3 separate regions of the Homo sapiens genome follow, and all the other regions are linked to region 3. The links are contacts of gene promoters, found by promoter capture Hi-C in blood cells and fetal thymus (Javierre and others, 2016). All regions are on one chromosome and are shown on one strand. The core of a region is centred on a gene start or on the middle of the fragment in contact, and the rest is flanking DNA. Distances in the headings are between cores, read along the strand shown.

Region 1 (4,976 bases), core at 92-2,591, 210 kb after region 3:
GCTAAAAAGGATGCTTAGGATACAAGGGGTGCGTTTACTCAAGATGCTATCTAAGTAATTGTCTATTGGTAATAAAAAAATAGCTAGAAAGAAATTAAAATTAATTCCTCCAGGAATATCTTTGGTCTGAGAGCAATAAATGTGTCAAATTACCATCTGTAGTACAAATGTCAGCGATCTGTTTGTACTGTTATTGGTGGATACTATAATTCCCAGACCCAAGTAGAAATAGGGATTTTGCAGCTGGCTAGGTGCAATGTATTTAAATTTGTTTTGGGGGTTAATCTGGAGAATAGGTGTATTGTTCTTTGTAAAACAATTTAATGGTAATAGGCAAAATGGCAGTGATAAAGTAAGGAACACAAGAGGACACAAATAAAAATAGGGAGACCTCAGTCAGGCATCTTTGCTGGGATGACTCCACATTACAAGTATAGAGTTACACACACACACACACACACACACACACACACACACACACACACACAGAGTTGCCTGATGTGGCAAAGAAAAATCCAGAACGTCCTTCCCTCTCTGAATTGTTCCTCCTATGTGCTCCCTGGGCTCTCATCACTCTGTCTGACCCTGTTCAGTTCTCTTCATCCGTCAATGGACTGTAAGTTCATTCCACCAGTTTATCCCCAGTGTGTTTCACTGCGCCTGGCTTAAGTCAGATATTCAGTTAATATCTGTTGACTGAATGGATGAAAGAGTGAGTGGCACAGAAAACACACTCACGCTTGAGGATCGCACAGCCGTGTGAAGCTGACTGTGGATTGCACTGAAGAACGAGGCTGGGATAGTAGAGATGCCCAAAGGAGGAGACTGTGAAGGCAAGCCTGGATTCTGCCCTGCAGCCCCTAGATACCAGGGCTGGTCCTGGGCACAGGAGAGACAGGTGAGCATTGATGTTTCAGAAAGAATATTCTTCCAGCAGCATGAAGGGCAGCTTATGGATAGGTGAGGCGGGAGGCACGTGGGAGATGAGACAGAAGGGTTTGTGCTTTATAATCTGAGTTGGAAGTGTGGGTGTTTCTTCTCTGTGGTCTGTGGGTTTCAGTATTAGTTATATTCTGCAGTTGAAGATGACAGTGATTTAGAGCAGGGTTGACCCTAAGTCTCCCCTGCCACCTCCCACACCAGAGCCATATTGTCACTGCTATGACCCCGACCATAGGAGGGGCAGAAAGACTTCGCAGGGTCTCAGCTGAAGGAGGTTTTGGGTGGAAGCGGCCAGAAGGCACCTGTGTTAGAGCAGTTAATCATTAAAAACACACACTAATGCTCCCTTAGAATATAAATGGTGTATGTTAGTGTGAACAGCTAGGAGGGCAGAGGGTGAGTTACCTGAAGAAGAGGAGGACACAGAGGAAAGAGCTGTGACCCCAGTGACTGAGAAAAAAGGTGCCGAGACAGCTGCGGCCGGCAGAGCCCGCGGGTTCTAAGATTCCTCTCCACTCAGTTGCTAACTCCTGCCCCACTCCCCACCTCCCACAACAAGAAAACATTCTTCAAGAGTAGCTGGTGCCTGTGATTTCTTTCATAAGAAGCAGAGTCTTTAATTCTGCATTGGAGATTAGAGGTTTACTCTAAAAGGTCAGCTCAGGAGACTCTTGAAAACAGCTCCAATCTAAATGCAACCAGTTCATAAATTCCTGTCCTATGGAGATAAGTTATCGCAGCAAATCCAACCACAGGCAGTACAGCTCCTGAATCATCAGGGAGAATTAAAAGGAGATGATGAAATGGGTAGCTTTTAGATTAATACAACGGTATAAAACCCAGGGAATGAGAGAATCTTGAGACTGTTATTTTCTGTATCTGCCATGACAAACGTTCCTTAATTCTTTAAACACTCATTAAAGAAATGAAAATTACTTTCTCATTCTCTAAAAACAATTAACAAACTTGTAGAGGGGAGAGAGTCTGGGGGAATGGGAATTGAAGATGAAGGGATGGGGGAAACGTCCGCTGGAGAAAAGCGAGAGACACACGTTTTACCAGAAATTGAGCGCTTAGGATTTTTGGCATTGCTGTTATGAAGACAGGAAGTTCTGATGGACATTTATTAGGATTGCCAGATAGAACACAGGACGCTCAGTTAAATTTGAATTTCAATTAAACAACCAATAGTACATGAGACAGTTGCATTCCATATATTTCTTGGGACTAAAAACATCATTCCCTTCCAGGAGAGAGTGATGTTGCACCATAGCAGGGGTTAGCAAACTATGACCTGTGGGCCAAATCCAATCCTCTTCCTGTTTTTGTAAATAAAGTTATATTGCAACACGGCCTGCTCATTCATTTAAATATTGTTCATGGCTATTTTCACAGCATAACAGCAAAATTGAATAGTTGTGAGTCAGACCGCATAGTCTTCAAAGCCTGAAATAATTACTTTCTATTCTAGTGGAAATCAGGAGTTTTCTAGGTATAGAAGTTTAGGAAAAAACTGTTTCTGGTCCTGAGGTTTCAGAAAACATGACAAATAGGAGGATGCAGGAAGTTTGGTGAGTGGGGAGAATTATAAGCAGGAAATTTAAGTGGGGATCAGCTTTTTTTGTGTGTCTGAGACAGATTCTTGTTCTGCCACCCAGGCTGAAGTACAGTGGTGAGATTATGGCTCACTGTAGCCTCGACCTCCCAGGCTCAAGCAGTCCTCCCACCTTAGCCTCCCAAAGTGCTGGGATTACAGACAATGAGGCACTGTGAGTGGTGGGGTCAACTTTGGAAGGGTTTTGTAAACCATTTTAAGGAATACCTTTGCTCTTTCTGTTTAATCTTCCTAGAATAGTTTTCCTCTCAACATGCCTGTTAAAATCTTATCCGTTCTTTGAAGCAAGCTTTAATCTCACCTTGAGCATAAGATTTTTGGTAAGAATATTTTTGCTCATTGTTCTTTTTATTTATCAGTGCAATAGTACTTATAGTGGGTTATCATTAGCTGTTGCCCTTACGTAACAGAAAAGTTCTTTTTTTTTTCTTTTGAGACAGAGTCTCACTCTTTCACCCAGGCTGGAGTGCAGTGGCATGACCTCGGCTCACTGCAACCTCTGCCTCCCATGTTCAAGCAATTCTTCTGCCTTAGCCTCCCGAGTAGCTGGGATTACAGGTGCCCGCCACCACGCCCAGTTAATTTTTGTATTTTTCGTAGAGACGGGGTTTCTCCATGTTGGCCAGGCTGGTCTTGAACTCCTGACCTCAGGCGATCCACCTTAGCCCCCCAAAGTGCTGAGATTACAGGCATGAGCCACCATGCCTAGCCAGAAAAGTTCTTAAATGCAGAAATTATTCGTCTCCATAGGTACTAAAGTGATTAAGGTAGTTATATATAAGTAGATGTTCAATAAATAAATATTGAATAAATATATATAGTGATGGGCCTACAAGAGTGTAAGAATAATTACAACATTGTTTGACTACAACAGTTGAATGCTTCCGCAGGGACAATTTCTCCGGCATGGTCCACATCTTCCAATGTTCAGTGCTATCATTTACACCTGCTTCTTTACACTGCTGACTAATGGGGCAAATCTTTTCTACTTTATTATTGTTTTTGCCTTTCTTTATTATGACTAATAACCCACTGGCCAACCTAAATGTCAGTCGTCATCTTCTTTGCTCATTTCCTTCTCCTTCAAATTGTGCTGTCAAGCATTCTAATTTTGGCTGGCTTAGGTGGGATTAATGCTCCTGACTGTAAGGCTATTTTCCCCGCTTTGCACAAATATTTCTTTAAGCAATGATCATACTTCTTTGGTAGCTTTGTTACAATCCGGTAATACCTGGGCATCTATCTTCTGTATTGAAAAAAGAGCATGGTCAAAGGATTCAGTATCGAGCTCCACATTTAATGACTAAAGAAGACATTTAATTTGAAATACCATTTGTCTCCAAACTGACATTTTATATATGAGAAACCTGAGATCCACACAGAGATCAAATGACAGACAGCTGGTTTTCATGGAAGTCCAGAGAAGCACCTTCCAGCAGGTTGCAAACTTCTCCCTTTAGAAGATAACAGCTAAAATCTTTCTGTCTCCCACTCTTGGCTCTAATTTGTTTATCAGACAACCAGCAGTTTTGTCATTGTTTCTTCATTTGGAGACAGAGCTAGTAAGTCTTGGTCAAGCCCAGTGATTCATTTCCTTATTTTTTTTCACTGCAGTTCCCATTCAGGGTTCTGCCAAGTGCTCTTTTGCATGGGGGAGGAGGGGGGGCCGCAGCCTGTGCCCTCTTGACCTAAAAGAGCTCTGGTTGGGCGGTGAGTCATTAATTCCCTGATGTCTTTTCCAACTGTAGATAAAAATCACAGTTGATTAAATGATGGGGCAAGGTGTGGAATGAAGGTTGGCATGGGTGTAGGAAAAAAAGTACATTTCCTTTTCCAAAGTACAGTATTTATTTTAATTGGCTCACAATAAATAGTAGGGGTAATTGTAACTCACAAAAGAGAAGTGCCCTTTGGAGAACTGGCATCACATAGAAAAGAACAAAAGGACATAGAAAAGTTTTACAGCAATCCTGATATTTGTGACTTAGAGTGATTTTTATAGGATTATAAAATTTGCTGGAATTAGTAGCTCTGTAGAGAAAATAGGAATCACAGAATTTCAGAGCCAGAAGGTATTTTACAAAGTGAGTCAACCTCAACCTCCTTAGATTGCTGATAAGAAAAATGAGGCAATGAAGTGCTCAGAGGTAGGATTTGTCTTGCAAGTCCTTGGGGTACCTCCATTTGCAAAGCTGCAGGTGAATCACAAGTTCTGATGACCTCTGACCTCTAGAATCACCTAAACACAGTGGAGAAACTACAGCTGGCTACAGGGTATCCAAGGTGGGTTAACGGGACAGCCCTCTTTCAGACATGCTGTACTCCCAAAGTCTCATCACATTTAGCAGGACTTCTCCCATATATGTGGGGGTTCAGGCTTCCCAGACCCCTCTGTGTCTCTCCATTAACATTTCAGTTT
Region 2 (4,440 bases), core at 975-3,474, 190 kb after region 3:
CATTGTAATTATACGTATCACTAAGAAGGAAAAAATGTTTTCAATTATACTTGCAAGGCATTATGAACATAAGATGCATTGTAATTTCAATTAAAAATAAAAACAAAGCCAGGCACAGTGGTGCATGCCTTAATCACAGCACTTTGTGGCACTGAGCTGAGGCAGGTGGACTGCTTTGCCCAGGAGTTTGAGACCAGCCTGGGCAATGTGGTGAAATACTCACTCTACAGAAAGTACAAAAATTAGCCAGACATGGTGATGCACACTTGTTGTCCCAGCTACTTGGGAGGCTGAGGTGGGAGAATCGCTTGAGCCCGGGAGGCAGAGGTTGCAGTGAGCTGAGATTGCACCACTTGCACTCCAGCCTGGGTGACAGTGTGAGGTCCTCCCTCAAAAGAAAAAAAAAAGGAGACAGAAAAGAGGGTTATATTAGGCTGTTCTTGCATTGCTGTAAAGAAATACCTGAGGCTGGGTGCAGTGGCTCACGCCTGTAATCCCAGCACTTTGGGAGGCCGAGGCAGGCAGATCACAAGGTCAAGAGATCGAGACCATCCTGGCCAACATGGTGTAGCCCCGTCTATACTAAAAATACAAAAATTAGCTGGGCATGGTGGTGCATTCCTATAGTCCCAGCTACTCAGGAGGCTGTGGCAGGAGAATAGCTTGAACCCGGGAGGCAGAGGTTGCAGTGAGCCGACTTCGTGCCGCTGCACTCCAGCCTGGCGACAGAGTGAGACTCCATCTCAAAAAAAAAAAAAAAAAGAAAAGAAAAGAAAAGAAAAGAAAAAAGAAAAGAAAAAATCCTGAGACTGAGTAATTTATAAAGAAACGAGGTTTGATTGGCTCACATTCCTGCAGCCTGTACAGGAAGCATGGCACCGGTAGATACTTCTGGTCAGAGCCTCAGGAAGCTTCCAATCATAGCAGAAAGCAAAGGGGGATCAGGCTCATCACATGGGGGAGTAGGCACCTCACATGGCAAGAGCGGGAGTGAGAGAGAGTGGGGGAGAGGTGCCACACATTTAAACAACCCGACCTCATGAGAACCTACTCACTACGGTGAGGACAGCACCAATAGGATAGTGCTAAACCATTCATGGGAAATCCATCCACCCCCATGATCCAATCACCTCCCACCAGGCCCCACCTCCAACAATGGGGATGACATTTCAACATGAGATTTGGGGAGACAAGTATCCAAACTGTATTAATCTGTTCTCACACTGCTATGAAGAATTGCCTGAGACTGGGTAATTTATAAAGAAAAGGGGATTAATTGACTCACAGTTCAGCATGGCTGGGGAGGCCTCAGGAAACTTACAATCATGGCGGAAGGCAAAAGGGAAGCAAGGCACCTTCTTCACAAGTCGGCAGGAAGAAGTGCCGAGTGAAAAGGGAAGAGCTTCTTATAAAACCATCAGATCTTGTGAGAACTCACTCACTATCATGAGAACAGCATGGGAGAAACCACCCCCATGTTTCAGTTACCTCCACCTGGTCTCTCCTTTGACATGTGGGGATTACGGGGATTACCATTCAAGATGAGATTTGGGTGGGAACACACAGTTTAACCATATCACAAACTATGTCAAAGGTGAATCCTAGTATTGATGAGATATGGTATTTAAATAGAAAATAGTCTCTTTTTGTCTTTGCTACCAAAAGACTGAGGAGGCCTTTGGGCAGGATGGTGGTCTTTCCTAGGCCCCTGAGCCCACGGTGTGTTGGAGCCTAGGATTTTATTTGCAGTAGCCTGGCGTATTGATTGAGCAAGGGCTTTGCAGTCTGAGAGAAGTGTATCAGCATTGTATCTTTAATGCTCGGAATCTCCATTTCTTTATCTGTGAAGATGGGACAATAAAATCATCGTTCCAGGACTTTCTGTGAGGATCCAATGAGATAATCTAGGGGAAGAGTCCCATCTCAGCACTCAGTACTTAGGACACACGTATGAGTTTCTCCTTCCCTTCCCCATGCTCTCCTTGCTTCCTTCAAAAGCTCACAATGAAAAAGGTGAAAAAGAACTTAGAGTAGATCATGACCTCAGAAATTTTAAATTCAGAAAACTTCTTAGGATGCTAAATAGAATCCTGTAGATCTCATCCCTCTTGGGTATTGTGTTGGTTTCCTGCTGCTGCTGTCATAAATTACTGTAAGTTTAGTGTTTAAAAACAACACACATCTGGCCGGGCGTGGTGGCTCACACCTGTTATCCCAGCATTTTGGGAGGCTGAGGCGGGCAGATCACTTGAGGCCAGGAGTTTGAGGCCAGCCTGGCCAACTTGGTGAAACCCTGTCTCTACTAAAAAAATACAAAAATTAGCCGGACATGGTGGTGTACACCTGTAATCCCAGCTACTCAGAAGCCTGAGACAGGAGAATCGCCTGAACCTGGGAGGTGGAGGTTGCGGTGAGCCGAGACCGTGTCACTGCCCTCCAGCCTGGGTGACAGAATGAGACCCTGTCTCCAAAACAAAGCAAAACAAAAACAAAAGAACCCCACACATTTATTATCAAACTGATCTTGAGGACAGAAGTCCAGGCCACGTTCATTTCTGGGGGCTATAGGGGAGACTCTGTCTCCACTGTGTTTCCAGCTTCTGCATGCTGCCTGCATTCCTTGGCTCGTGGTCCTTTTCTCCATTTCGAAGGCCAGCAGTGCTACCTCTCTTTGTGCCTTTCTTTCATAGTCATAACCCTCTGGCTGACTCTGACTCCTTCTGTCTTTCTCTTTCATTTTTAAAGATTTTAAGGATGTTTACATGGGCCTAGCTGGATAATTCAAGATAGTCTTCCTAATTTAAGCAATCTGATTGGCATCCTTAATTCATCTGCAACTCCCCTCCGCCGTGTACCCTCACATATTCACAGCTTCCAGAGATTAGGACATGGACATTTTGGAAGCCATTGTTCAGTCTATTACAAGTACTTAAAAAAAACCACTATATATCTCCCTTGCTTCTTGTTTGATTGAAAATGTGTTGTGTATGGATTTTTAAAATTCCATTATTTGAATACTTACAATTTCAACTGATGCCTCTATCGTAGCACTTGTGCATTACATAGAAATGTTTATTTATTTTACATGTCTGTTTACCCACTAATACATATGCTTCTAGAGGGAATATATCGTATTCATCTTAGAATTCTGTGAACACAGTACAATGCCTAGTGCAAAACAGATACTTGATCAGTGATTATGCACTGGAACTGAATGAACTTGGTTGATTTTTGTAGCAATTTCTTATTTTGTCCTCTTTTAAACTTTCACAAATAACTTCCAAAACCTGAATGCCTTTGATATCAACAACATGTAGTCTTTCCTTTTATATGAGATAACAATTGGTCGTCTCACGTCTATTGAGAAGTAAATGATTTGTTTCATTCAGCTTAGTGGAAATTCACACAAGAAATGCAGAAAAATGAAAATAATAAAGTTATTTTCAGGTTATTCAAAAGAGAATGAAGGTCTGAGAAGTTTCTTAATATATACAAGTAGGATTTTATTGCAAAGGGAATTGGAAGTTATTTTCCTGGGAAGCTTTGGTTCTGCTAACAATGAAGCATTTATACAATGCATAATCCATGAATGTGAGTCGGTTACATCTTATTACGCAACTTTCTATTGTATTTAGTATACATCAGTATCTATATCAGTACAAACAATTGATCCAGTTTTTGGTGAAAGCCAAACTAATATTTTATTACATAATTCTGTAAATTTGACAATACGCAGATTTCTGGGTGAATGTCTGCTGCTTCTTTTGCTTTTGTTTCTTTATTCTTATTTCTCTGAGTACAGTCATCTGAGTATAGATGAGTGAATTAAAGCTGTCCTTTGACTCATTCTCGGATCATCCATTAAAACTGAGTTTTGGGGCCAGGCATGGTGTCTCATGCCTGTAACCCCAGCACTTTGGGAGGCCAATGCGGGATGATCACTTGAGGCCAGGAATTTGAGACCAGCCTGGGCAACATTGTGAGACTCTGTCTGTACAAAAAACTTTTTAAAACTAGCTGACTGTGGTGGCATATGCTTGTAGTCCTAGCCACTTGGGAGTCTGAGGTGGGAGTATCATTTGAGACCAGGAGATCAAGGCTGAGCTATGATCACACCACTGTACTCCAGCCTGAATGACAGAGTGAGACCCTGTTCCCCCTCCCCAAAAATCAAAAACACAAAAAACTATTTTTTGGGGCCAATCTAAGAGATGATCCACTAATTGGTCCACTTACCACATACTTTTAGATTTGATACCTTTCATTAATAGCCTTTACTTTGCACTCTTTTCTTCCATTGTTTTTTTTTTCATTGACTTTTCTGCTCCTAGCAATCAACATTCTTCATTTCCACAATCCTTGCCAAAGTAGCATTCCCTTTCCCTTGGGAAAAGTAGGCATAGACCTGCCTCTAAATCAAAGGCTTCAAGTACCAAAGGT
Region 3 (4,620 bases), core at 963-3,462:
TGAGCCACCATGCCCAGCCCGGTGTTCTTTCTTATTATCCCAGTTTTTGAATGAGAAAACTGAAGCCTGGAAGGGTTAATTACCTTAGCCAAGGTCACACAACTAGCAGCAGAACTGAGACTTAAATCCATGTCTCTTTGACTTGGATTTTAACAAGTATATCATGATGGACTGCAGCATATAAAAATACTTGCATTATGTCGTTTTGATTGGTCCCCACAACAAGATCATGAGCTAGGACAGATATCATTATACTCCAATATGACGAACAAGGTCAAAAATACAAATATAAAGCACTAAGAACAATGAGCACTCATGTGCTCAATAAAAATACATTGTTATTGCCAAAAAAATAATCTGTCAAACTGGCCTCATAAAAGCAAAGTCACTGGCATCGTTTAGGCCTGACCCAAAAAGCAATTAATGCAAATGTACCATCCTTTGACTAACAGTAGAGGAGGGGAAAAAGGTCAAAATCATGTAAGTTAACACAAGAAAAATAAGTTTGGGGGAGGTGGGAGAAATCCTTTTTAAAAAAATCTAATCTCCCTTTCCTTAAAATTTACCATTAGAATTAATATATTTGTATTTAACAGATTCCAAAGAGTTACCAGTTTGATTGGTTTGGTATGAGGCAGAAGATAGTGCAGGAACTTCCGAAGGAAGAAGAAAAAGTCCATCCAGAATGCCATCAATTTCAGCCTGCAGATTTGGCTCCACATTAGACCGAAGCTTAGATAAGAACTCTACTGCACCAACGTCAACCAAATGTTGGACTGCTGGGGGATACTAAAATAAGAAGAGGATGATCTTGAGAATAACTGTATCAAAATCTCTATAACTTACAGCAATCAAAACATAAAATTATTTTTGGTATATCAGATGTTCCTTTTCTGAAAAACAAATCCTTCATGGCTCTGCCCCGAAGTAAGGCACTTCCATGAGGAGCACATACACCTATAGAGACATACATCCAACACTTGATAACATTTATGAAAGATGAGCCAACACACTGAACGCTAGAAATGCACATTATCAATCCCTACTCTTATTTTTTTAATGGGTTACTTTTTTCCACTGACACTCACCTTATGGTCCCAGCCCCAACCGGTCAACAGGATGTCAAAGTAGTTTAAGATTCCTCTACCATTGTACAGTGATTTAGTTTTGAAAGGTTAAACTTACACTTTGATATCTGACCCCGATAACTAACTACTCTTGAGGTAGGCATAAGAATACCAATCTAAAAGCATATGGGCAAGCAACTTAACATTGGTATTTATGAATCACGGTTATGTAACATTATTTTTAAAGTGCTCCCTTTCATACTGACATATCTAGTTTTTAAGATGTAAATGTCAGAAAACAAAAACAGAATACAAATATTAACCTCCAAAGATAACTCAAAAACACAGAACATACCAAAACTCAAAAGAAGTTCTGTGTTACTTCTGAGCACAGCAGAGACCATGTGGGATTCAGTATCACAAATAAAAGATGAACCATATACCCAGATTAATTAAAATTAAACATCTCTGGTTGATTAAAAAAACTTTTAACCCCAATTATTTAACTTTCAATAAACGCTACAATTAAATGACTAAGAAACAAGTCACTCGTCTGATTATTTTCTTTATTTCAAAATGACCCTACCTTAACCAATCTGCTTAACAGGTTCAGAACCTCTTCCTTCATCGGAACGGACGGGAAATTGAACCATTCCAGCAAATGAAGAAAAAGTTGCCTCTCCTGAATGAGATCAGCGTAGCAGATTAAGTTGTGCTCAATCTTGCAGAGAATACTCTTGAGAGCGCGCTCCCTGATCTCGGCCAGCTGATGACCTGTCAACGAACGGCACAAAACTATTTTATTTCCCGACTGCAAAGAGACTACGTTATTTATGCTGTGGGCAGGAGCGGCGTGAAGACGGAATAAACCAGTTTTTTTCAGAAGCAGGCCACTGGTGCCTTCGGGACGCGAACCGCGAAGTTTACACAAAGTCCGAGATGGGTCCCCGGGGGCTATCCTGACAAAGCGGGGGTGAAAGAGGGAGCGGTCGCGGAGCGGCCGGCCGCGGAAACGTGACACGACCATTCTCAGCAAGTGGCCAGAGCGCGGGGGGTGCCTTGGGCGAGGGGCAAGCTGACAGTTACCGAGTTTCCTGATGAGCCCTGCCAGGACCATCTCGTCCCGTCAATCTGCAGCCGCCGGAGAATTAAACTGCCGCGCCACTGCGTCCAGCCACAATTAATGTACCCCCGGAAACACGTCCTGTGGGACGGTGAGTTCCGCAACGCCTGCGCTCACCAGGAGTAGGAGTCATTACGTGAGCCCTTCGCGGCCCCAGCGTCGCCAGGAGAGCTTCCAGCCTCTCTAGAATCACTACTGCGCACTTCCTGGACAGCAGTCTCCGTCGCAAGAAGCGGAGGGAAAAAAAAAAGCAACAAGCAGGGATAGAACCAGCGTTGGCCGCCGCGCACGTCGGGAGTTGTAGTTCTGGCTAGGCCGTGCGTCCTGCACCGATCTCCGGGCCCGCCGCGGCGCCCGCTGGCCTGGGGTTCCGGCTTACAGCGCGGGAATTCGGGAACCCAGCGCGGGCTGCAGAGGCCCCAGCAGGAGCCCCGCCTCCCGGCTCGTCGACGGATTCGTTCTTGGCCCTGCCAATCTGATTCTCAGCTCCCAGAACTTCACGATTTAGAATGTAGACTTTTGCTTTGTGACAGTTCTCCCCATCCCCGACTACTAAATGACGAACCCTCTTTAACTGTGAAATGTACCTGCAAAGTCAAGCAGTGTCTTTGGATACCCAAGTTCAGATATGAACAAGCAAGCTACAAAAGCGGGGTGGGCGGGTATGAGTGAGCAGAAGAGAGAAACCGGGCTGCAAAAAAGGAAAATAAAGGCGGGACGTGGGGGTATGATTTGCTGAATGGTACCAAAGTTGATTTTTTGCACCGTGCACAGTGATCGAGCTGAGCAAATTATTTTTTTTTTAATTATAAGCAGCGGTAAGAACAACAACAAAATTACATTTGGAAAATGATTTGCATTTTCTCGGTCTGATCATTTCACGTTCCCTGGGAAAGGGATGTCAAGGCAGGTAAAGTGGGCCCTCGGTATCCCTAGGTAATTGGTTCCAGGACCCCCGCAGATACCCAAATCCACCCATGCTTAAGTCTCTTTTATAAAATGGTGTAGTATTTGCATATAACCTACACACATCCTCCTATATGCTTTAAATCATCTCTAGATTGCTTACAATACCTAATACACTGTAAATGCTATGTAAATAGTTGTTACACTGTACTTTTATTCATATTATTTTTTAATTGTTGTATTGTTATTTTCAACTGTGGGGTTTTTTCCCGAATATTTTCCATCCCGTGTGTTGAATTCTCTGTGTGCAACCAGTGGACAGCAAAGGCCTACTGTATTCCCATTCCTATTTTGCCAAAGAGGAAACTTAGAATCACAAAAGTACCCCCACACAAAGTCACATTAACTAGTAAGTGACAGATTGAGGAGCTGACCTGATGTTTCTTTGTTCTATTTAGAGTGCCTTGCTGCCTCCTCATGTGTGTCAATAGGAGAGTGATGATATTTGAGTTGGATCTTAAAGAGTAAGTAGGAGTTTGCCACACAAAGAAGTTGGGTAAGGAAATTCCTGCAGGAGAAACCTGTATTTGCAAAGGCAAGAATCCAGACGGAGTGTGTCAAATTCGGGAAAAGAACAAAATTCAAGGTGGCCATATTATCTCTGGGAAGAAGAGAGGAAGGGCAAGATTGCTGCTAGCATGCTGGATATTCTCCATTCCACCTTCTAGTGGTTCCTCCCAGCTCTTCCAGCTCTGCATCAACTGACCTGAACAGGCAAAAAGACTGCACTATCCAGGCTGCCTGGCCCTCTGGCTTCCAGTTGGTTGCCGCCGATAGGAGGCATCAGCAGGAAATTGGAAAGTAGGAGGAAAGAGATACGGATATTAAACCAAGATTCCACTAGCCCATGCCTAAGCCTGCCTGGCCAAGATTGTAACAGTGGCTGAATTCCTTGACCCAAAGACCACATGTCCTGATGGATAGCATACCACAGTGGGCACTGCAGAACCAGTTACACCAACTCAGAAGTGTCTGTAGTTATCCAGGAAGGAAGGTGTTAATTACGGATTTGAAGTGTCAAGGTCAAAAAACACATGACAATACAGAAAAATAATAGAAATAACTTGTCAATGATGTTTCTGAGATGAACAATCTTAGGTGATGAGAGACTGTAGATGCAGTGGGGTAAGGGGCGATAATACTGTAGAAGAAATATAAAAAATCCATTGACTTAAAACAAGCATGTTACAAGTAAAATGGGGGTCAAACTATGAAAGGGTTTTACTTATGTTGCACCCAAGGTCAACATAAACATTTTATTTTATTTTCATTGTTGAGCATATATTGCTCCTGTAATTAGACAAAAATAATTAAATCCCATTCATTACATTCAAAGCAAATAATCTATCATTCTCCTATTAGACTATTGATTCAGCAATTTTTCCTAAAAAAAAATCAACCTTTGATTTATTAATTCTACTATTTAAAAACACACATATATATTCTAGTGTATTGACTGTATTA

The links. The method cuts DNA at HindIII sites, captures the fragments that hold promoters and counts their contacts. A CHiCAGO score of 5 or more calls a contact.
Region 1: a fragment that was not itself captured here is called in contact with the fragment with the promoter of RTTN in region 3 in 9 of 17 cell types (monocytes, M0 macrophages, M1 macrophages and 6 more); the score reaches 34.7 in monocytes.
Region 2: a fragment that was not itself captured here is called in contact with the fragment with the promoter of RTTN in region 3 in 6 of 17 cell types (monocytes, M1 macrophages, M0 macrophages and 3 more); the score reaches 15.4 in monocytes.

The regions. Positions count from the first base shown.
Region 1 is chr18:70,418,070-70,423,045 of GRCh38, forward strand. No RefSeq gene overlaps it. Among named protein-coding and RNA genes, the nearest start is that of LINC01910, 36 kb to the left of the region's middle. The HindIII fragment of the contact is 3,005 bases long and covers 1-2,844 here.
Region 2 is chr18:70,393,846-70,398,285 of GRCh38, forward strand. No RefSeq gene overlaps it. Among named protein-coding and RNA genes, the nearest start is that of LINC01910, 11 kb to the left of the region's middle. The HindIII fragment of the contact is 2,630 bases long and covers 910-3,539 here.
Region 3 is chr18:70,203,475-70,208,094 of GRCh38, forward strand. It overlaps RTTN (rotatin), which reads right to left and starts at 2,213. Exons shown (of 49, transcript NM_173630.4): 1 at 2,154-2,213; 2 at 1,654-1,841; 3 at 612-789. The coding sequence starts at 2,184. It overlaps LOC105372180 (a long non-coding RNA gene), which reads left to right and starts at 2,315. Exons shown (of 3, transcript XR_935599.3): 1 at 2,315-3,100; 2 at 3,555-3,620. RefSeq lists enhancers at 1,913-2,042, 2,253-2,362, 2,281-2,910, 2,373-2,612. The HindIII fragment of the contact is 5,232 bases long and covers 731-4,620 here.